3 separate regions of the Homo sapiens genome follow, and all the other regions are linked to region 3. Evidence: promoter capture Hi-C in human tissues and cell types (Jung and others, 2019). All regions are on one chromosome and are shown on one strand. The core of a region is centred on a gene start or on the middle of the fragment in contact, and the rest is flanking DNA. Distances in the headings are between cores, read along the strand shown. Region 1 overlaps UBTD1 (ubiquitin domain containing 1). Region 2 overlaps HOGA1 (4-hydroxy-2-oxoglutarate aldolase 1). Region 3 holds the start of RRP12 (ribosomal RNA processing 12 homolog).

What was found. Contacts are between HindIII fragments. The study calls those that stand out against the background at their distance.
Region 1: a fragment that was not itself captured here is called in contact with the fragment with the promoter of RRP12 in region 3 in 1 of the 25 tissues and cell types used here (bladder).
Region 2: a contact is called between a fragment that was not itself captured here and the fragment with the promoter of RRP12 in region 3, in 1 of the 25 tissues and cell types used here (aorta).

What each region holds. Positions count from the first base shown.
Region 1 is chr10:97,532,977-97,535,778 of GRCh38, reverse strand. The region is part of intron 1 of UBTD1 (ubiquitin domain containing 1); the gene reads right to left. Among named protein-coding and RNA genes, the nearest start is that of UBTD1, 35 kb to the right of the region's middle. The HindIII fragment of the contact is 3,452 bases long and covers 1-2,802 here.
Region 2 is chr10:97,593,201-97,596,025 of GRCh38, reverse strand. All of the region lies in intron 1 of HOGA1 (4-hydroxy-2-oxoglutarate aldolase 1), which reads right to left. Among named protein-coding and RNA genes, the nearest start is that of C10orf62, 4.9 kb to the right of the region's middle. The HindIII fragment of the contact is 5,729 bases long and covers 1-2,825 here.
Region 3 is chr10:97,400,048-97,403,163 of GRCh38, reverse strand. It overlaps RRP12 (ribosomal RNA processing 12 homolog), which reads left to right and starts at 1,824. Exons shown (of 34, transcript NM_015179.4): 1 at 1,824-2,071; 2 at 2,630-2,859. The coding sequence starts at 1,933. RefSeq lists an enhancer at 2,291-2,340. The HindIII fragment of the contact is 11,530 bases long and covers 1-3,116 here.

The DNA.
Region 1 (2,802 bases), core at 216-2,715, 130 kb before region 3:
ACCTAGCTAATTAAAAAAAAAAATTTGTAGAGATGGGGTCTCACTTTGTTGCCCAGGCTGATCTCAAACTCCTGGCTTCAAGTGATCCTCCCATGGTGCCAGAATTATAGGTATGAGCCACTACAGCTGCAAGTAATTTTTTTTTCTTTTTCTTTTTCTTTTTTGAGACAGAGTCTTGCTCTGTTGCCCAGGCTGGAGTGCAGTGGCTCAATGTCTGCTCACTGCAACCTCCGCCTCCTGGGTTCAAGCGATTCTCCTGCCTCAGCCTCCAGAGTAGCTGGGACTACAGGCACATGCCACCACGCCCAGCTAATTTTTTGTATTTTCAGTAGATATGGGGTTTCACTGTGTTAGCCAGGATGGTCTCAATTTCCTGATCTCGTGATCTGCCCGCCTTGGCCTCCCAAAGTGCTGGGATTACAGGCGTGAGCCACCACACCAGGCCAAGTAATTTTTTTTTAATGGAAATGCTAAGACCTAGCTGTTGTTTAATGGAAATGCTAAGACCTAGCTGTTGATATGTCTTATCAGCATATGGGAACTAGCCGTTCACACGGAGCTGGTAGCAGGCCAGTCCAGAAAGGAGGCTTTGGCCAACCTGGATGGTGATGCCTCTGTGACTTGGTTTCTTGGGGCCATGAGACAGAGGAGGTGAGAGATATGGCCAGAGTGAGGAAGAATGGGCAGAAAAGCCCAGAAGCCCCCAGCCTCCAGAGTCCAGGTGAGATTTCTGCACTGCCCACACAAACCCTCTTCTTCCAGGCAAAGAGGAGTGTGGGCCTCAAGGGGGTGGCAGGGAGAAAGGCCGCCCCCTCCTGGCCAATGAGGGCTTTCAACAGAGGGCTTTAGAAAGGCTGGCTGAGTGCCGCTTGGTGGGGAGGCGGGCAAGGAGGACTGAGAGCTTGACATCATTTCTACTCTGGGCAGAGGTGTGGGCTGGAGTCTCTGCCAGGGGTCAGATGGTGGCCCTTGGAGGCTGTGTGCCTCCCAAGCAAACTGGCAGCTCCCAAATGGGCCCAAGTTTGTAAAGACAGTGTTAGCATCTGCAAGGGAAAAAATCTGGAGGAACACACACCACCTTTTCTACCCCAGAAGTGGGGTAGTGGACCTTTCACATTCTAGGATATATATTTGTGCATGTATTAGCTTTTTTAGGAGTAAGGGTGGTGTGTGTGTGTGTGTGTGTGTGTGTGTGTGTGCGCGCGCGCGTGTGTGTTCCTTAGTGCCTTAAGCTTTGGCTTGAATGTGGTGTGGTAGAAAATCTTGAGACTTAGGGGGAAACGCAGTAAAAGATCCTTGTCATGACAAAGTGGAGAAAGCTTAGCCAGGACTTGGAGTGTCTTCTACAAGGTACCTCGAAGGAAAGACTGTTTCTAGCTGCCTTGGATCAAACAAAGCTCCCATTTAAGCCGCTTTGTGCGAATTGTACCACAAACAAGCTGTAAGGGCAGGGCTGGGCCCTCCCCATCTCAGTCCCAGGGCTCAGGCCAATGATCCGCACACAATAGGTGCTCAATAAAAGCTGACAGAATGAACCAGCGAGTGGACCACATGGGAGGTGGTGAGAGCTCTGGTTTCCTGGGAAGGGGGTGAAGTGGGAAAGGGCCCAACAGAGGAGCCCTGTGGAAAGGCAGAAACCAGTGGAACCCTTGGCAAGCTGTCCTCAGACCTTTGTCTTAGGGGAAGGCGGCAGAAGCTGGCCAGAAAAGGTTGCAGCTGGTCCTGCCTGCAAGGTTTCCAGGCAGTAGAAGGCTTCAGGGCCCCGCTGGCCTAGGGCAGATGGGCTGTGGCCCACATCACCTGCCCCTCCCAAGGCGAGTCTGATGAGGGCTTAAGATTTTTTTTTTTTTTTTTTTGAGATGGAGTCTTGCTTTGTCACGCAGGCTTCAGTGCAGTGGCGTGATCTCAGCTCACTGTAACCTCGACCTCCCAGGTTCAAGTGATTCCCCTGCCTCAACCTCCTGAGAAGCTGGGACTACAGGTCTGCACCACCACACCCAGCTAATTTTCGTATTTTTAGTAGAGACGGGTTTCACCATGTTGGCCAGGCTGGTCTCAAACTCCTGACCTCAAGTGATCTGCCCGCCTCAGTCCCCCAAAGTGCTGGGATTACAGGGTGAGCTACCACACCCAGCCCAGAGCTTAAGATCTGTGTCAAGCAAGGGCTGAGTCAGACTTGGTGGAGGTGGGGGGCAAAGGGGGATGCTGCGAAGAGGGAGGGCAGACAGATCAGGCCTCATTCCCTCAGACACGCTCCACCAGCCCAAGGCCAGGCAAGAGCAGCCTCCTCGTACCCTTCTCCCACCCGCTATGGCGTAGAATATAGGCGGCCTTCCATGGTGCTGAAACCCAGGAGAAAGCAAAGCCCCGGGAAGAAGTCTCCCTTGCAGACAGGATGCAGTTGGTAGCTGTGTGCTAGGAGACCACCACCTGTTTTGGCCCAAACGTCCTCCCTTCATAGATGCCAGACAGGCTCTAGCAGTGGGTGGGGAGGAGAAGGCAGCAAACCCGGGGCAGCAGGAGGTATCTGCTTTCAGCACAGTCACCAAAGGGTCAGGGAGGGAGCCCTATGGGCTCAGCTCCCAGCTGGTGGAAAAGGCATCCTCTCAGTTTCAGCTCAGCTGGAGGTCAAGAACTGCTGAGGCTGGCAGCCCTGGGCAGGGGATCCTATTTGCTTGCAAGTGAGCATCTTGTCGCCGTGGTGACCCAGGGAAACACCATGCAGGAGTCAGCCACAAGGCCAGGAACAGAGCTTTCCAGCTGGGAAAGTGGATGCAAAGCACTCCTCCTCCCCTGGACCCT
Region 2 (2,825 bases), core at 292-2,791, 190 kb before region 3:
ATTTCAATCCTAGCTTATAGGACTGTTTTAAAGGATAAGAAAATGTCCCAGAAATCTGTGAGTGGGTACCCCAAAGAGCCCCTCCTTCACCCTGGTTAGATGTCCAGGTGTGAGCCTGATGTGTCCCTGTTAGTGTAGAGAGGGGGCCAGAGGAGAGGAAAAGGCCAGGATCTCCAATGAAGCAGGGACTGGGGAAAAAGCAGAAAAGCAGAGGGCTCACAGAAGAGGGGTCAGATGCACAGGCCCTGAAGTCAGAGAAGCCCAGGCTAACTCAATTAAAAAATAGTGATGATATTAGTGCCTTTCTCAGAGTTTTGTTTTGTTTTGTTTTGAGACAGAGTCTCACTCTGTTGCCCAGGCTGGAGTGCAGTGGTGCGACCTCGGCTCACTGCAGCCTCTGTCTCCCAGGCTCAAGCAATTATCCTGCCTCAGCCTCCTGAGTAGCTGGGATTACAGGCACCTGACACCATGCCGGCTAATTTTTGTATTTTTAGTAGAGACAGGGTTTCACCATGTTGGCCAGGCTGGTCTCGAACTCCTGGCCTCAGGTGATCCGCCTGCCTTGGCCTCCCAAAGTGCTGGGGATTATGGGCATGAGCCATCACACCCAGCCTCTCAGAGTTGTTTTGAAGTTTAAATGAGATACTATTTATAAAGTACTTCGAATAGAACCTGGTGCTCAATAAGTGTTAGCTGTCATTCTTATGGAGTCAGGAGAAAGTGCTCAAACCTTAAATCAGGAGGGTGGCTGGTGTTGAAGGGGAGGCTGCTCTCAATGACCTCTCATTGTACACCTACTGTGATATTAGGAGTGGGTGTACAAGGCCCCCTCCAGCTGTAAGACAAAGGAAGATACTCTCCCCTGCCCCCATGATTACACTTGCTGCTCTGGGAGCTGGGGTGGCAGTGAGGGGAGTGGGCGTTTGGGGCTGGGGACACATAAGCAACATGGTGACTTACTGTGGCTAAAAAGAATCACATAAGGAGTGTCCCCAGACATTATTATGCGTTCTTAGTCCATCATCATTGCCACCTCCTCTGAGAAGTCTTCCTGGGATCTCTCCACTGGGCCTCCCTGCTCTGCATTTCCGTTACCTGTTCCTTGTATAATATTTCCCCATGGACAGCACCCATCTACAAAGGTCCCTAGAACTCTTCAATCCTCCACCCCCACCCCCATGTGTGGGATTAGACACAATTTTTCAATCTGACCTCTCCTATAAAATAAGAAATTGGGCCAGGCACAGTGGCTCACACCTGTAATCCCAGCACTTTGGGAGGCCAAGACGGGTGGACTATTTGAGGCCAGGAGTTCGAGACCAGCCTGGCCAACATGGTGAAACCCTGTCTCTACTAAAAAAAAATTAAAATTAGGCCAGGCACAATGGTTCACACTTGTGATCCCAGCACTTTGGGACGCCGAGGCGGGCGAACCACAAGGTCAGGAGTTCAAGACCAGCCTGGCCAACATGGTGAAACCCCGTCTCTACTAAAAATACAAAAATTAGCTGGGCATGGTGGCAGGCACCTGTAATCCCAGTTACTCAGGAGGCCGAGGCAGGAGAATTGCTTGAACCCAGGAGGCAGAGGTTGCAGTGAGCCAAGATTGGGCTACTGCACTGCAGCCTGGGTGACAGTGTAAGACTCTGTCTTAAAAAAATAAAAAAAATTAAAAATCAAAAATTAGCCAAGCATGGAGGCGCGCACCTGTAATCCCAGCTACTCGGGAGTCAGAAGCAGGAGAATTGCTTAAGCCTGGGAGGTGGAGGTTGCAGTGAGCCCAGATCGCACCACTGATCGGTAGCCTGGGTGACAGAGTGAGACTCTGTCTCAAAAAAAAAAAAAAAAAAAAAAAAAGACCAGGCGCAGTGGCTCATGCCTGTAATTCCAGCACTTTGGGAGGCCAAGGCAGGCCAATCACTTGAGGTCAGGAGTTCGAGACCAGCCTGGCCAACGTGGTGAAACGCTATCTCTACTAAAAATACAAAAATTAGCTGGGCGTGGTGGTGCACGCTTGTAATCCCAGCTATTCGGGAGGCTGAGGCAGGAGAATCGCTTGAACCCGGGAGGCAGAGGTTACAGTGAGCCGAGGTCGTGCCACTGCACTCAAGCCTGGGTGACAAGAGTGAAACTCGGTCTCAAAAAAAAAACAAGTTGACTGCCATGGTTCCCCAGACACTGCACTTCCCTCCCTCTGCACCCTTGCTTGTGTTGTTCCCTTCTGCCTGGAACACCTTCCAAATGCGGGCCAACAAGCTCAAGTCGGCTACCCAGCATTCTGTTTTCCTTGCCCAGTGCTTGCCTTACTTTGCCTGGATGCATTCTGGCCTCCTGTGTGGTGCCTAGCATAGGTGTTGAGGTGTGTGTTGACAATTTGTTGTGCAAAAGAAAAAGAAGTTCTTTATTTTTTTCTGCCCTGGTCTGCGGCCAAAGTTTTTTGCATGACATAATTCATAACCTCCCTCTGGAAAGAAATTACATTCCTGATGAAATGCTTAAGCATTTTTGTGATGAACTTTATTTATTTTTTTCTTTTTTATGTTTTTTTTGAGACAGAGTCTGGCTCTGTTACCCAGGCTGGAGGGCAGTGGCATGGTCTCGGCTCACTGCAACCTCCACCTCCCAGGTTCAAGCAATTCTTCTGTCTCAGCCTCCCGAGTAGCTGAGATTACAGGTGCCTGCCACCACACCCAGCTAATTTTTTGTATTTTTAGTAGAGATGGGATTTCACCATGTTGGCCAGGCTGGTCTCAAACTCCTGATCTCAGATGACCCACCTGCCTCAGCCTCCCAAAGTGCTGGGATTACAGGCGTGAGCCGCCGTG
Region 3 (3,116 bases), core at 575-3,074:
AGCTGGTCTTGAACTCCTGGGCTGGAGCAATCCTTCCTCCCCTCTACTCCCTGCCCCCCGGCCTCCTACGGTGTTGGAATTCCAGGCCAAGCATCAGCCACTGCACCCACCTGTCCCTTTTGCCCATTCTTTTTATTGGATTGTCTGCCTTGTTCTTATTGATTGGTAGGAATTCTTTATATATTATAGATGTACTTTGTTAGTTCTATATATCTTCTTCCAAAGAATGCTGCTAAAGGTTTAGAATAAAGCTGCTGGGCAAGAGGGAAGAGAAATGTGTCTTTTGTAAGGTTTGGGATCTGGTTGAAGGATTTTAAGGAGGGTCTCAGGGGAGTGGGGATAAACTGGATCGGTTGCTGGTTCTGAGGTGGAATTAGGAGAACTGGGAATTGGCCGGATGCCAGGTGCGGTGGCTCATGCCTGTAATCCCAGCACTTTGGGAGGTGGGCAGATCACCTGAGGAAAGGAGTTCGAGACCAACCTGGCCAACATGGTGAAACTCTGCGTGTACTGAAAATACAAAAAAAAAAATTAGCCGGGCGCGGTGGTGCATGCTTGTAATTTCAGCTACTTGGGAGGCTGAGGCAGGAGAACTGCTTGAACCTGAAATGTGGAGGTTGCAGTGAGCCGAGATCGTGCCACTGCACTCCAGCCTGGGCACCAGAGCAAGACTCTGTCTCAAAAAAAAAAAAAAAAAAGAGAGAGAGAGAGAGAAATTGGAGAACCAGGGATTAATTAGGGATGGAATGCTGTCATAAGGCAAGGTGGCTTAGCAACTGAGTATCTCCAGTAATAAATGAAAATAGCAAAGCTTGTCTAGAACACCACTGACTGCTTTTTTCTCTTTTCAAGTCAAGCTAATTTTCACACTTTCAAGTCTCCATAAGTTTTGACTTTTCTTTTTTTTCTTTTTTTCTTTTTTTGAGATGGAGTTTCACTCTTGTTGCCCAGGCTGGAGTGCAATGGCGTGATCTCAGCTCACCGCAACCTCTGCCTCCCAGGTTCAAGCGATTCTTCTGCCTCAGCCTCCCCAGTAGTTGGGATTACAGGCATGCGCGACCACGCCCGGCTTATTTTGTATTTTTAGTAGAGACAGGGTTTCTCCATGTTGGTCAGGCTGGTCTCGAACATCGTGACCTCAGGTGATCTGCCCGCCTCGGCCTCCCAGAGTGCTGGGATTACATATATACTTTTATATGAAGGTATATGACTTTCATATAAATGTGTTTCTATGCTTAATTTTGAAAATAGATTTTCAAATGTAATATAAATGTACTTTTTGTTGTTGTTTAACTGCAAAAGAACTCCAGTTTTTTGTTTGCTTTGTTTTGTTTTTTTGAGACAGTCTTACTCTGTTGTCCAGGCTGGAGTGCCGAGGCGTGATCTCGGCTTACTGCAAACTCCGCCTCCCGAGTTCAAGTGATTCTTGTGCCTCATCCTCCCGAGTAGTTGGGATTACAGGCGCGCGCCACCAAGCCCAGCTAATTTTTTTATTTTAGTAGAGACGGGGTTTCACCCTGGTGATCAGGCTGGTCTCAAACTCCTGACCTCAAATGATCCACCCGCCTCAGCCTCCCAAAGTATTGGGATTACAGGCATGAGCCACCACGCTCAGCCAAACTCCAGTTTTATAAGGCTTACGCCTGTGGCCCTGAAACCTGGTCCTGGCTGGAGTAAGAACCCCATAGAACCCTTAGCAACCTAACTTCCTCCCTAGCAACGGATCTCCTTGGAGCTCCTCCCCATCCGAAGCCAGGAGGAGGTGTAAAACCGGATGTTGACTGTTTTACCATAGTAATGCACACGAATCCGGAAGTGACGCCAGAAGAAGAGGAAGTGAAGGCTACAGGGTATCCACGTGGGTTCTGAGCGTGTTTCTACGTCCCTGGAAGCCGGTCATTTAAGCTCATTCCTCGCCACGGCTTAGTCAACATGGGTCGCTCGGGAAAGTTGCCTTCTGGTGTCTCAGCTAAGTTGAAGCGCTGGAAGAAAGGCCACAGCAGCGACAGCAACCCCGCCATCTGCCGCCACCGTCAGGCCGCCCGCAGCCGCTTCTTCAGCCGGCCGTCAGGTAGCTGGGTTGAGACCCGAGCGCAGCCGGGGGCGGGGTTCCAGGCAGACCTGGGTCCAGATGAGTCTGGGGCCTCTGGGAGAGTGCGGGGCCAGGCATTGGACCTTTCGTCTCTTAGGATGTCGGATCTGGAGCCCTCTCTGAAGGGCAGTCCTTCCAATTTAGCAGATACAGAAACTGAGGTCCGCAGTAGGGAAATGTCTTGTGTAAGGTACCGCGGGTGTCAGAGTTGAGACAGATGGCTTGGACCTTGGGTAGCTCTTTACAGAGCGCGTTCACCTTCATTTATTTTGCAGGCCCTCTGAATGTAGCTCCCAGCCGATTCCCAGTGGCGTTTATGCCGCTGCTACAGGGAAGCAGAAACTTTTACATGGAGGATTCCCTTTCTCCTTGGTTTTTCAAGTTTTTAGGCATACAGTGGTTTTATGAGACTGGCTGTGTTCAGAATTCAGCCTCTCGGGTTGGAGATTTGGCCTGGGCTGGTTTGTTTCCCAGGGGTTGTTCTGTTCTCTTGACCAAAAGGAGGCTTGGACCTTATCTTGTGCCTCTGGCTCTCAGGAAGGAGTGACCTGACAGTCGATGCTGTGAAGTTACATAATGAGCTGCAGTCAGGGTCCTTGCGCTTGGGCAAAAGCGAAGCCCCGGAGACGCCCATGGAAGAAGAGGCGGAGCTGGTTCTCACCGAGAAGTCCTCGGGTACCTTCCTGAGTGGCCTTTCCGACTGCACAAACGTCACCTTCAGCAAAGTACAGCGCTTCTGGGAGTCCAACTCGGCTGCCCACAAGGAGGTAGGGGCGAGGGTCGGGAGGGCCATAGGATAGTGAGGAGAGGCCAACTCATGCCTTTTCTTCAGCTCTGGCCGACAGGTCTCCGATGACAACAGCTGGTATTTCTGGATGATGCGTCATCGCTCCTCCCCTTTATGTCTCCTCCTAGGGCAGGTTCTACTTTCTGCTTTTTATAAGAACATCTCCTCTGCTTAAGTACTTGAGGGTAGAAATATTTTCCAAACATTTCTCTCCTCAGCTATACCTAACACAGCACT